Regions from separate parts of the Homo sapiens genome. Here regions 1 and 3 are each linked to region 2. Evidence: promoter capture Hi-C in 16 types of primary human blood cells and fetal thymus (Javierre and others, 2016). All regions are on one chromosome and are shown on one strand. Each heading gives the region's core, a stretch centred on a gene start or on the middle of the fragment in contact. The rest is flanking DNA. Distances are from core to core; before and after follow the strand shown. Region 1 overlaps LOC100506474 (a long non-coding RNA gene). Region 2 holds the start of E2F6 (E2F transcription factor 6). Region 3 overlaps LOC105373436 (a long non-coding RNA gene).

The links. The method cuts DNA at HindIII sites, captures the fragments that hold promoters and counts their contacts. A CHiCAGO score of 5 or more calls a contact.
Region 1: a fragment that was not itself captured here is called in contact with the fragment with the promoter of E2F6 in region 2 in 2 of 17 cell types (naive B cells and total B cells); the score reaches 9.4 in naive B cells.
Region 3: a fragment that was not itself captured here is called in contact with the fragment with the promoter of E2F6 in region 2 in 3 of 17 cell types (total B cells, naive B cells and total CD4 T cells); the score reaches 13.2 in total B cells.

What each region holds. Positions count from the first base shown.
Region 1 is chr2:12,993,854-12,998,352 of GRCh38, reverse strand. The region is part of intron 4 of LOC100506474 (a long non-coding RNA gene); the gene reads left to right. Among named protein-coding and RNA genes, the nearest start is that of MIR3125, 260 kb to the right of the region's middle. The HindIII fragment of the contact is 336 bases long and covers 1,842-2,177 here.
Region 2 is chr2:11,463,439-11,468,290 of GRCh38, reverse strand. E2F6 (E2F transcription factor 6) reads left to right here and starts at 2,130. Exons shown (of 7, transcript NM_198256.4): 1 at 2,130-2,519. The coding sequence starts at 2,412. RefSeq lists enhancers at 1,315-1,394, 1,822-2,378, 2,379-2,936. The HindIII fragment of the contact is 15,644 bases long and covers 1-4,852 here.
Region 3 is chr2:13,015,180-13,020,094 of GRCh38, reverse strand. The region is part of intron 1 of LOC105373436 (a long non-coding RNA gene); the gene reads right to left. Among named protein-coding and RNA genes, the nearest start is that of MIR3125, 280 kb to the right of the region's middle. The HindIII fragment of the contact is 1,753 bases long and covers 1,274-3,026 here.

The sequences.
Region 1 (4,499 bases), core at 760-3,259, 1.5 Mb before region 2:
CAGTCTCAGCTAAATTTGGGGGAATCATGTACAAAAGGAAATTGAGAATCAACATTATGTGGGAAATAAATTTGCCATCAGTAAAAGAGAGAAATAATTATAATCAGAAATAAGCTGTTATTGGAATAACACCCATAGAACAACTTCTTATCACTGTTTTCAAGGAGTAAAGGAAGCTGCCTTTTCCTTGGTTATACAAAGTCAATGAAACACACACACATGCACACACACATGCATGCACACAAACACACACGCACATTCTGGTGACCAATATGTCCTTCTTGTTGGAAGTCTTCAGAATTTAGATCACGAATGTTGCCCACTTGTAAAAACTCTAGAGTATCATATGGCAGTGGCTTAGTACTTGGAATTTTCCATTAGAGTTAGTTACTGTCTAAGCATTATCCGAGTTGTGTGAAATAGTTTGTCTACAATTAACTCTTTAGTCATTCCTGAAATGTACACTGGTATAATATTCGTGTCATTGAAATTAGAAAGACCACTACAATGATGACAATGACTATTACAATGAATATAATGACAACTGCGATCACTTCAACTATAACTACAACTATTATTATTACAATTACTAATGCTAGTGTAATATTGATAATAATGATAAGGTCTATGTTATTAATAATGATAACAACAGTCAGGTATTGTGCTGTTCCCTGCACATCCATTAACTTATGTATTCCTCACAAAGCCTTTGTAAACAATATTATGACTTTTGTTGTAAGGAAGAATATAAACTCCATAAAAATAGATAACTTACTATTGGTGTATCTCTAGTGTCTAGATAGTAATTGATTTAAAATATTTCCTCAATGAATATTTTTTCTTTTCATTTCTTGCTGGAAAATAATAATAATAATAATTATTATTATTATTATTATTTTTGAGATGGAGTCTTGCTCTGTCGCCAGGCTGGAGTGCAGTGGCACGATCTCAGCTCACTGCAACCTCCACTTCCTGAGTTCAAGTGATTCTCCTGCCTCAATCTCCCCAGTAGCTGGGACTACAGGTGTGTGCCACCACCCCCAGCTAATTTTTGTATTTTTAGTAGAGATGGGGGGTTTCACCATGTTGGCCAGGATGGTCTCAATCTCTTGACCACGTGATCCACCCACCTCGGCCTCCCAAGGAAAACTAAATTTTCTTAATAATAAAATAAGTTGGGAAGAGGGAAAAGAAGATGGGCTAAAAAGAGGCAGAGGAGGATTAGCAAGAAGAAGTAGGGAAGGAAAAAGAGTAGAAGGAGGAAGACATAGGCTAATATTTGAGCTTTTGGCATTTCCCATGTAACGTGCCAAGACTCACACATTCTCTCATTTTATCCTCACAACTACCAGATATGGTACGGATGTTTTATTAACTCCATTTTCATACTTAAAAAAATGGTTCTTAAAGACTTTGACTAAATTGCTGAAGATCACACAGCTTTGAATGTTCTTTTTCTGATTTAGCTTCCTGGGTACAAAGATTAAAAGCGCTCTTTGGTTGTAGTAACAACTTCTGATCTTCTAGAGAAGTTATTTTGGCTAAATTTCCTCTGAATTTCCCTTTCTACAACTTGCTTATTTCCAATTTTCATATGCCTTAATAATTTAAGTTGTTTTATATATTTCTTGGAAAAATCAAGACTATTATAAATAAATTCATAAAAGTAAATCAATTAATAATCTAAGACCAAATATTATAAACAAATAAAATAATAATAAAAGAATCCAATAATAATCTGCAGGTTCTACATTAAAAGTAAAGCAAATGTAGAAGGTGAGTTTTACTTCCTTGATTTTTTTCTGAATATGTATCTTCAGGAACTTATTTCTCAGTAAGCTTAAGTATAAAACCCAGAATTTCAAGCTCCCTTACAAAGAAAATGCTGATAATTTCCAGGGAAGCCCAGCCATCCTCTGAATCCACCTGACTGCCCAGACACCATCCAGCCTTCTGCTGAAGTACTTCTTTCCCACATGTGTTTATGAACCTGTATTTCTCTCAGCTCTGAGGTACATCCTGAGACTCACATGTGTTCTACTTAATTCTACTACATGGCAAGAGGTCAACATTATTATTGGTTCTTTCCTCTCTAAGTCTTAAAACAACCACACTTCAATCTAGGCTAGAGTTTTAGGCTGCATTCTATTTTGAGACACACACTGTCAGTAAAAGCTTTTAAGAGTAACTGGTAATTATGTATCACATATAGTTGTGAAATTTAATTTGTTTGAGCAAAATACCTAATTGTCTCTTTTTTATAATATTTCTCTTTATGTAATATAATTGTTATAATTACATTTCTACTATACACATACAATGATTTTAATTACACAAAAAAGTCATATCTTTTCATAATAAATATAATTAAACATTCAGTGTAGAAGTATATGATGAAATATATTTTATAAATCAGAGACCATAAGATCTTTATGTGTTAATGTTTTATGATTCCTGAAAGCCTAAAACAGTTGAGCTAATATAGATCTACAATAAGTGATTTGCAATGCATTTGTATAGAACAAAACCTTTTTGCTCTTTAAAGTCATTTCACTTTTAAGTCTTTGGACACCACAACAGTTTGCCTGATGAAGAATAATAAGCAGTCATATAAACTAAAAAGGTCAATTCTGCACCTACAATTTCCTTAGCATGTTTAGGACAATTAAGATACATAGTATCTTTGCTGTGTATGCATGTATGTGACTTTGTCATTGTTTTGCTGTTGTACTTATCAATTTCTCTCATCAAATATTTACATGGCCCAAATCTGACATGGCTTGTAGGCTCACATTATCATGCTGGTATTAGGAACTGGGTCTCCCTCTACATTTTGTTATGACATCTGTATCCCAGTCATACTGTTATGTCTACCATTTCACCAATAAGCCTGAACTACCTCAGTGTCTTTGTTAAAAGTTTATTTCTTTTTATTCCCAAGGATCAATTTAAATATTGTGCCTCCCAGTGAGCTTTCTTGGATATTTCTAATCATGAACAACCCATCTACTTCCAATAACTCTATGACAATATTTTTATGTGTATCTACTTATCACATTCTCTTCACTAACCTGTTGGTGTAATAAATTCTAACTAAGATAGTGGAAAAAAGGGTATATACCTTTTTTTTCCAAATCTGTGCTAGTCACCAGAAGAGGTGACTAGCACAGATTTGGGAGGCCAAAGAAAGCATAAAGAATAATTTATGTTCAAACTAACAAAGGAAGAATGAGAAGAAATTAGTTGGGTATCGAAGGCACGGGCAAGATAGCACCCAAGCAAATGGGATAGCCTTAGGAAGACACAGAGGCATGAAAATGTTACGTAGCTGACTATGTGAATCCTCCATCAATATCCCCTAAGTCCTTATAATTGCCACAGCCTGAAACACTTTTTCAAGCATCTAAGCCTGTATCTTTCTGCCTGGAGACTATCTCTGGTTGCTGGAATCTGTTCCGCCTGTGTGCAAATGGCTGGAAATACCAAGAAACTAATCCCCCTCCCAGGATTTAGTGTATGGATATCCTGGCTCTCTTGCCTCTGAGACTGGACAACTCAAATGCATGTGTTCTACACTGGACCCCAGAGCTCCACAGTTAGGTTAAGCTTTCAAAACCAACAGCGGTAGCATGTTCACTAATCCATCCATTACTGACTGCTTTCCTTCTTTGTCTTATTTTCCTATTACCTCACTGGTGATTTCTGACATCAACTCCCTATTAAAATGTATGTGTGATAGTCTGAATGTTTTTGTCCCCCAAAATTTATATACTGAAACCTCAAACCCCAAGGTCATGGTATTAGAAGGTGAAGATTTGGGCAAATAATCAGTCCCCTTAAGTGAGATTAATGCCCTTATAAAAGAGGCTTCAGATAGCTCCCTTGTCCATTCTATCTACCATGTGAGGACACAGTGAGAAGTTGCTGTATTTTTTTTTACCATAAAATGGGCCATCACCAGACAACAAATCTGCTGGTGTATTGATGTTGGACTTCCCAGCTCCCAGAACTGTGACAAGTAAAGTTCAGTTGGTTATAAGCTAAACAGTTCATGGTAATTTGTTTTAAGAAACTGGATGGACCAAGACAACATGTAAGTAAACCCTTGTCTCAAGGTCTGCTTTTGGATAAACTCGAACTGAGACACCATGCCATAACTGATGAACTGAAAGAAGTTCAGGTTGGTTGAAACATGGAAAAAATGGAATAAAAATGAGGAGCATGCATATAGAAAGGTAACAACCAGTGTGTGCAAGAGCTCTGAATAGAGTACATGTTATATAATTGATCTGAAAGGCATTTGGATACCAATGTTTTACTAAAAAAGAGGGGTACAGTTAAACAGTACATTTGTGTTTAGAAAAAGTATTATTCTGGCCACAAGAAAAAAATCAGTTTGTGTGGGGACAGCAGGGACAAAACTGAAGGAATGGTGATAACCTTGGAGGTTTTAAAAGTGACCAAGGTTTGAATTAATAATAATAGCCTGAACTTTAATA
Region 2 (4,852 bases), core at 881-3,380:
CAAAAAAAAAAATGTGCAAAAGATTATGTCTTGGGGAAAAGCCAGGTCACAGGCACAATAAGTGTGAGGATTGTGCCATTTCCCCGACTCTCCCCAGCTCTGTGCTCATGCTCTTTCTTTAGCCTGGACCACTTGCTACTCCGTCCTGATCCACACCCCACCTTTACTTGCCCAACCCCAACTCTGGTTGTAGAGAATCTAGTCGTCCTTGAAGAATCTTCCTAAAGATCTGAATGCCAAATTAATTAATCAGTTGTGGAGTCAAAGCCTGCCTCTACCACTGCCTACTAGGACCTTGAGTAAATTTTTGTAATCCTGCTGATCTTAATTTTGCTGATCTGCAAATTGGGCAGAAAAATACCTATCTTTCAGTTTTGATATGAGATTTACATAAGCAAATGCATGTGGAATGCCAAACACATAGCAGATGCTGAATAAATGCCTTCAAATGGCCATTTCTAACGGCTCTGGGAAATTCTCCATTCTGCAACAATATGCAGTCTTCTCGAGACCTCCGCTACGTTCTCTTTTTTTCTCATCGTTTATTTAGCAAACATTAATAGAGCATGTTTTATTTGCCAGACACTTTGCTAGATGATAGAGATACAAAGATTAGAAGCCAGGCATGGGTGTCTCACGCCTATAACTCCAGCACCTTGGGAGGCTGAGGCAGGAGGATTGCTTAAGGTAAGGAGTTCAAAAAATAAAATAAAATAAAACATAAAAAAAAATTAGCCAGGCATGGTGGCATGCACCTGTACTCTCAGCTACTTGGGAGTCTTAGCTGGGAGATCACTTGAGGCCAGGAGTTTGACGCTACAGTGAATTATGACCGTGACACTGCCCTCCAGCCTGGGTGACAGAAAAAAAAAAAAAAAGATTAGAGAAGGCCTCTGACCTCACAGTCTAGTGGGGAACCAGCTTCTTCGGGGATTTTTCCCTGCCTCACCTCGCCCACCTCAGGCTGTGTAGAAACCCCCAGTCTAACCAGTTGTTTCCCTCCAACTCTGTACATACCACGGTGTGTTGCCTTTTTATTTCAAACATGTGCTGGCCTCTGTTCTAATCACAGCAACCTGTATCCATTAATCCATTTAATCCTCACAACAACCTTATCAGGTAAGTATTGTCATTATTTGCATTTTCCAAATAAGGAAACTGAGGCACAGACAGATTAAGTAACTGGCTTAATAAGGTCTTCTAGTTTATACGTAGAGGCAGCCAGGACTTGAAAACACACCTTCTGGCTCCAGCTAAATTAACATGCTCTGTTTACTTATCTGTCCCCACTGAAATTGGAGGTTGAACCCGTGGCATATTCAAACGAATAAGTATCGCCTGTGCCCACCCCAATATCTGACACTATAGGTCAACGATAACTCATTCGTCAAACAGGAAGGAGGAAGGAAGGAAGGAAGGAAGGAAGGAAGGAAGGCAGGCAGGCAGGCAGGCGGGCAGGCAGAGGTAAAACGATTCCACAATGGTGTGGTTGCTCACATTTACTAAGCATCAACACTGACCTGCCTGTAAGATGCGCTAACAGAGCTCACGAATAAATGAAGGCTGGGTGTGGTAGCTCACGCCTATAATCCCAGCACTTGAGAGGCCAAGGTGGGAGGACGGCTTGAGCCCCAGAGTTCAGGACCAGCCGGGGCAATATACTGAGACCCTGTCTCTACTAAAATTAAAATTAAAAATTAGCCAGGCACAGTGGCGCGCGCATGTAGTCCCAGCTACTTGGGAGGCTGAGGTGGAGGATCGCTTGAGCCCGGGAATTCAAGGCTGCAGTGAGCCCTGACCACGCCACTGCACTCCAGCCTGGGCGACCAAAAAAAAAATTAAAATAAAAAAAAGGAATAAATGAACATCTCTGCGGCTCAGAACTTTCAGTTATCACCTCAGAACTTTCAGTTATCACCGTCGAGAATTCCAGGCGACCGCTGGGTTTTCCCGGTTGCCTCTTTTCTCTCACCCCTGTTCCCTTCCTCTGGAATTCGGCTCCACCTCTTCCTTTTCCTTTGCCAGCCTCTCCGTGGATTCCGCGGTCCGGGTTTCCCGGGCGGCAGCCGCCGGGAGAGGATCGGTGCGTGGGAGCGCTCCGGCAGCGGCGGGCATGCGCAGAGGGGGGCGGTGTACTGCGCATGCGGGAAGATGGCGGGCCGGGCGACTTGAGATCCGCGGGTCTCCCTCCTCTTTTTCCGTCTGCGTCGGGAGCTCCCGGGCACGTGAGGCCGTGCCGCGTTTACTGGCGGGCGGGACGGCCTAGCCGGGCGGCGCCTCGGAGGAAGCCGCGGACCCCTTAGGTGCTGGGCCCTTGGAAATCGGCGCGTGGGGGGCGGTGCTCGAGCTGAGCGCGAGAGGGCGGGAGAGCTCGTGGGGTGCGAGGGGAGCAGGACGCCCGGCCGGGCAGCATGAGTCAGCAGCGGCCGGCGAGGAAGTTACCCAGTCTCCTCCTGGACCCGACGGAGGAGACGGTTCGCCGTCGGTGCCGAGACCCCATCAACGTGGAGGGCCTGCTGGTAAGCTCCGGGACGGGACGGGGACGGGCGGTGGTCTCCCAAATCCGGCCCCCTCCTCCCCGCGCCGCCGCCAACCCCGCTGGCCGTCGTCTGGGTCGTCTGCTCCCCCTGGGCCAGGCGCTGCCCATCACGTGCTGCGAACTGCGCTCTCCCGCCTTCTGCTTTCAGCATCTGCTCACAGACGTGGTATCAGTCTTCTAGGCTTTTACATCGGAACTTCAGAGCACTGTTGGAGAAAATTGCTCAACTTTGCATTAGAGAGTCCATGTTTATCTCCTTCTATGGACTCTAGCTGTATCTCTGCAACCTATCATTTGTTTTTCTGCCTCCTCTCCCATCCTTCTGCTCTACTGCAGCCGTTTAAAACCTTGTCCACGCTTTATATTTCCCACGCCACAGCTCCCATTCATCAAATTATCTCCCCACCTGTTTGACAGAGAAAATGGTTAGGAAATTTGGCTCCCTTTCCTGCAAAGGCTGATTTCTTCTCTTGTTCAGGACCAGATGCTGTATTCCCCGCGGTTATCAGGGCCCTCAACAAATGCATTTTCTTTTTCTTTTCTTTCTTTTTTTTCTTTTTTTTTTTTTTTTTTGAGATTGAGTTTTACTTTTGTTCCCCAGGCTGGAGTGCAATGGCGCAATCTCAGCTCACTGCAACCCCCACCTCCCAGGTTCAAGAGATTCTCCTGCTTCAGCCTCCCATGTAGCTGGGATCACAGGCATGCGCCACCACACCCAGCTAATTTTGTATTTTTAGTAGAGACGGGATTTCGCCGTGTTGGCCAGGCTGGTCTCGAACTCCTGACGACCTCAGGTGATCCACCGAGCCCGACCTCTCCCCGTATTTTCAATTTCTCTGCTGCTTTCTTTCTATAACTAGTAGTAATTAAACATTTTCCCAAGTCATTATGCCTGGTTCCCCTACCAAATAGTTTGTGATTATTGCCTCATTTAATTTCTCATTTCTCACAGCAGTGTTTTATAATACTAAAAGATTATTATTCTTGTTTCACGGTTGCCAAAACAGACTTGGAGATGCATGTAACGCCGGCTTGCCTGTGGCTGGATAATAAGTGTAGAAACTTGGGTTGAAGCTCCAAATGTCTAACTCCAGATGATAAATTCTTGACTACTAAAACCGCATTCTAAATCCATCCCCATCTTAAAAGATCTCTCCCTTGATTCCATATCCCCTCCCATCTACTGTCTCTCTTCCTCTTCACAGCTAAACTTTTTTTTTTTTTTTTTTTTTTTGGTGACGAAGTCTTGCTCTGTCACCCAGGCTGGAGTGCAGTGGCCTGATCTCGGTTCACTGCAAGCTCCGCCTCCCGAGTTCACGCCATTTTCCTGCCTCAGCCTCCTGAGTAGCTGGGACTACAGGCACCCGCCACCACGCACGGCTAATTTTTTTTTGTATTTTTAGTAGAGATGGGGTTTCACCGTGTAAGCCAGGATGGTCTCAATCTCCTGACCTCGTGATCCACCCGCCTCAGCCTCCCAAAGTGCTTTCACAGCTAAACTTCTTGAAAAGGTTATTTACACTCACTGTTTCCACTTGATGGCCTCTTATTACCAGCCAACCCACTGCTGGGGACCCCTATCCTAAGCACACTTGTAAGACCATTCTAACCAAGGTCACCGACAAGCTCGTCAATTCCAGCAGCTGTTGTAGTTTTGACTACAACACTCGTGTTAGAAACCCTCCCTTGAGCTTCCTTGACGTTTGATGCTCCATCTGCTTCTCTGGCTTCTCCTTGTCCTCATCCTCTTCCCATTCCTTCATGTTGATTTGTTTTTCTGTTTTTGTTTTTGTCCCCCCCCCCGGTGCAGGATCTCACTCTGTCACCCTGGCTGGAGTGCAGTGGCACATCATGGCTCACTGCAGCCTTACCTCCCAGGCTCAAGTGATCCTTCTGCCTCCAACTCCCAAGTAGCTGAGACCACAGGCACATGCCACCACACCTGGCTAATTATTTTTATTTTTAGAGATGGGAGTCTTCCTATGGGGCCCAGGCTGGTCTTGAACTCCTGGGCTCAAGCAGTCCTCTCACCTCAGCTCCCCAAAGTGCTGGGATTACAGGCGTGAGCCTCTGCAGCTGGCCACATGTTGGTATTATTCAGGGTTCTCTTCTACCGTCTCTACACATTCTTCTTAGGGGAGTTCATTCACTCCTCCCATGACTTCTGTTACCATCTACATTTGATCATTGAACGACTCAGGGATTGGGGCACCAAATCCCATGAAATTCAAAATCTGAATATAACTTTGATTCCCCCAAAACTTTACTGTTTGCTGGAAGCCTTACTGATACCGTAAACAGTTAATTGACACA
Region 3 (4,915 bases), core at 901-3,400, 1.6 Mb before region 2:
CATGCACATATACATGTAACACATGCACACATAGAAAATACTTTTCATGCAGAACAATTTTGCTGGTGATGATTTATTACAGTAGACCCATAAACAACATGAGGTTAGGGGGAACCAACTTCCTCCATAGTCACAAATTGATGTATAGCTTTTGACTTCCCCCAAACTTAACTACTAATAGACTACTGCTGACAAGAAGCCGTACCGAAAACATAAACACTTTATTACCATGTATTTTGTATGTTAGATGTATTACGTACTATAGTCTTACAGTAAAGTTAGCTAGAGAAAAGAAAATGTTATTAAGAAAATTATAAGGAAGAGAAAATATATTTACTATTTATTAAGTGAAAGTGGATCATCATGAAAGTCTATATTCTCATCTTCACGTTGACTAGGCTGAGAAAAAGGAAGAGAGGTTTTGGTCTTGCTGTCTTAGAACTGGTAGAGGCTGAAGAGGTAGAAGGAAGAGACAGGAGAGAGAGGCACGTGGTGTAACTTTATGGAAATACATCATAATTTCTGTCAACATTTTTGCTTTTTAATTTATCTACAAATATTTCTATATGGTACCAATTCTTCCCCCACCATTTGTTGTAGTCTCAGTGCCCATATCCTACAAGGGTCTATCTATGCTGTAAAAGCATTTCAAAGTAGTCTTGAATAATCAGAATGATTCTTCCAGATTGTCTAATAACAATTTGTTTTCTGCACTGTTTTTTCCATCTCCCTCCTCATCATCTGATACTGGTTCAGAAGCACTCAACTCCATCCAAGTTGTCTTCTGTTAATTCCTCCAGTGTGGTATCTTTTCACTTTTGAATTTCTCTCAAGACTTATACCTTGAAACCCTTCACACCCACCTTTTTTTTTTTTGCCATATGCATAATCTCTTTCATTATTTCTTTGATTGGCTCTGTTGTAAACCCAGTGAAGTCATTCACAACACCTGGACCCAGTTTTCTCCCATAGAAATGTATTGTTTTGGGCTTGATGGCTTTCATGAATTTTTCCATAGCAATAATGGCATTTTCAATGGTGTGACCCTTCTAGACATTCATAATGTTTTCTCTATCAGTGTTCCCTTCCACAGCATTGACAATCCTTTCCATAGAGTACCATGTGTAATGAGCATTAACAGTCCTTCTGACCTCCCGATCTAGAGGCTGAATTAGAAACACTGTGTTTAGGGACAAGTAGATCACTTCAGTGATTTCAGTGTTGACCTCTAGGGCTTCTGGATGGCAAGAAGCATGATCTATTATCAAAAGCTTTAAAAGGCAATCCCTTACTAGGAAGGTACTTCCTGACTTTAGGGACAAAGCATCAATGGAACCAGTTAAGAAGGAGTTTTGATTGTCCAGGCCAACTTGTTGTACAGTCAGAAGACTGGCGGCTGGTGTTTATCTTTGTTCTTCAAGACTCAGGGGTTAGCAGCTTTACAGATAAGAGCAGTCCTCATCAGAAACCCAGCGGCATTTGCACAACATATTAGAGGTCAGTTATCCCTTCCTGCTTTAAATCTTAGTGCCCATTTCTCTTCCTTACTAATAAATGTCCTTTGTGCCAATTTTTTTTCCAGGTTGAGCAATTTCATCCTCATAAAAAAACCTGTTCAGACCAACATCCTTCCTCCTCAATGGTTTTCTTAATAACATCTGGGAACTTGTCTGCTGTCTCTTGGTCAGCATAAACTGTTTTGTTTGTTATCTTGACTTTTTTTTTGCTGAAATCTGTTTCAAAATTATCAAACCATCCCTTTCTGGCATTAAATTATTTAACTTTAGATCTTTTACCTTTTTATTTTTATTTTTTTTTTTTTGCTTTAAGTTACCATATAATGACTTTGCTTTTCCTAGAATCATATTCAAATCTATAGGTATGCTTTGCTTATGGCAATCCTGCACCACATAAAAGCTGCATTTTCAATATGATATAAAAGGATATTTCACAAAAAGTACAAGATTTTTGCACCTGTTGACATAGCTGCAGCAACAGCTTCAGTCCTTATGCTGGATTCATTTATCTTTAAATGGTAGGAAACCGCAATAGCAGACAACAATCTATGGTACATATCAAGCAATTCAACTTTTTCTTGTAATGCCATGACTTTTCTTGGCTTCTTGGAGGCACTTTGTATGGGGTCCCATGGTGTAATTCAAGGTTATAGGATTGCACTAAACATGATGAAAAATACATAAGAACTGTGAGAACTCACTTTTTACCGTGGTACACAATTTACTGGAGTGATGAGCTGCTCAGGTGGAGGTTTTTAGCATAGTATGGCATTCTATGCAGATGTAACATGAGCTCACCACAACAACAACAGGAGGTGGCTATGAAATGATTACCGTAGTACAGTATTATTACACTTAATTTTATGCAGTCAGAATTTGATTCTTCATCTTTACACTTCTTTACATTTCTCTTGACTGCAAATGGTGCCATGTATGGTTTACAAGCATTTGTGTGTTTAAGTTTTGATAAATTTTAACTTTTTATGATAGATTTATGTACTATTTTATGGTAGCAAATGAAAAAGTAGACTAGTATCTGCATGTATTTTATGTATTAATGACATACCTAACATTTTCTTAATTTATTTTTATACTTCTAGGCTACGTGGTTAGTCTGCAAGTTTTTGCAAATTGTCACAAATCTCCAAAATTTTTCAAATTATTTATTGAAAAAAATCCACGTATAAGTGGACCCACAGAGTTCAAATCAATGTTGTTGAAGGGTCAACTGTAGTGTGTTTCTGTTTTAAACTTATATTTCTTTATATATTTATGGAAGATATTCTCACTATATAAGTCCTAGGCTGAAAGTTCATTTTTTTCTCAGCATTTTAAACATACCATTCAATTGTCTTCTATTCATGATGATTTCTTACGATAATTTAGCTATCACTCTTATTATTTGTCCTTTTATGTAAGCTGTCTTCTTTCGTGTTTTTATTTTTCCTTTCTGGCTGCTTTTAAGACTATTTCTATATCTTGCATTTCCCCCCGAGTTTTGACTAAGCTTTTCCTGGGTATTTTTTTTTTTTTTTTTGTATTTATTGTGCTTGGGTCAACTGCTTGGATTTGGGGGTTGTTATCTTTCAATTTCGAAATTTCTTAGGTACTACCTTCTCAGATGTTATCATGACTGGTCTTCAAATTCACTAGTATGTTCTCCTTTCATGTCCTGTCTGCTCTTTAGCCCACCCAATGACCTTTTTATTTCTGATATTGGGTTCTCCATTCCTAGTGTTTTAATTTTATGAATAATATTTTCATGGATATGCTGAAATTACCTATTTCTTCACTCTTGTCTTTCTTCCCCACTGTATTTGTTAAAGTAATTATCTTGATGATTTCAACATCATTGTTTGATCATTCTTGCCTCTAGTCCAACTCTGGTCCTGCTTGTATTGACTTGACTATATTTTATCTTAATTGTGGGTTGCAATTGTCATCTCTTTTGCTTTTCTCATTGTTTATATCTGTGTGCTAAGGATTATATGTAAGAGAACAGTACAGACCTGAAGAAAATAATATTTATCTTCCAAAGAAGTACATGACCGTCTGTTAGGTTGTCAAGGCAGTGGCTAGGTGAATCTAATCTGCACTGAAGCTAGGTCTGAGCTTTGCTGCAGCACTGACTAGTTCTCAAATCATTTCAAATATTTCAAAGGCAGAATTAAACTTTTCACTTGGCATGACATTGCGATTATCCCAACAAGATTCTGGAGATTTCTTTGTTTTTTCGCCTTAGCTATCAGCCTTGAAGGCTGATAGAAAATACTTATTCACCTCTATCTTCTGCTTGCCAGCTGTTTGCTTACCATGCAATTTTCTTTGCTTTATATTTTCTCCACTAGCTTTCTGTGTATCAAGAGACTTCTCTCAATCTCACTGCTCTGCCTTCAGTTCTCAGAGAGCCATTGTAGTGGAGACCTGCTGTGTCTCAGAGTGATTTACTTTGGCTCTCATGGTCTAATCCCATTTTTCAGAGGGTCATCCATTGTCTTGCATTTAGAAAGGTTCTGAGTACTAGGGAATCTCTCCCCACAATATTATCCAACCACAAGCCTCTGTCACACTACCCTGGAACACAATTCTAAAAGCCAGAAACTGTGACATCAAGACAGTCTAACAAATACTTAAACTGTTTCTTGACTGGGAAATTGCATTACCCCTTAATGGATGTATCCATTTCTAAATTTGTTAGAGAGGGAAATAATGCCTTTCCTTTGTAGATGAAATTAAACAAAGTGCTTTAAAAGAAGTGTAAAGTATTATACAAAAGTAAGGTCTTGTTAGCATCATATGTAATGTATTCAGATGCCAACAGCTGTTTTTCAATGAACACTTCCTAGCACCAGGGAAAACACTTTATGCGTGTTTGTTCAAGGACCAGAATGCTCTGACAGCAGCTGGCAATTTCAAAGACCAAATCAAACCAATTTTTCACTGTTAGGAAATTTGCTTCGGAGCCCTCTTATTGTATGTTCAGAGTAATATATAATTGTGATTTTTAAAAAATTGATTTGAGATCCTGTCTCAGGAAATTTACTTATGGTCTCTTATTCAAATCTGAAAAAAATGAAAAGATAATAAACTGTTATCAGTACAAATGAGGGCACTAAGACTCAAGTATCATGTCCCAGTTAACAGATAAGAGCAGGCTTTAACTTACAGTCTCAGTAACTCCAAATTCTTTGTCCTTTCTATCACAGTATATTGATATTTTGAGTTTACACTACCATATTATTTCAATCTCTTTTCACTGTACTTTCAGATTCCTTTAAGACTTTAATTCACCTTTAAAAATAGAAGTTTTTAATGTCAGTTTTAACATTAATTTTTCAATTTTGCTTCTCTCTTCAAACTGTAGCTCTGTAAATAAAAAAATAAAATCAATTTTCTCC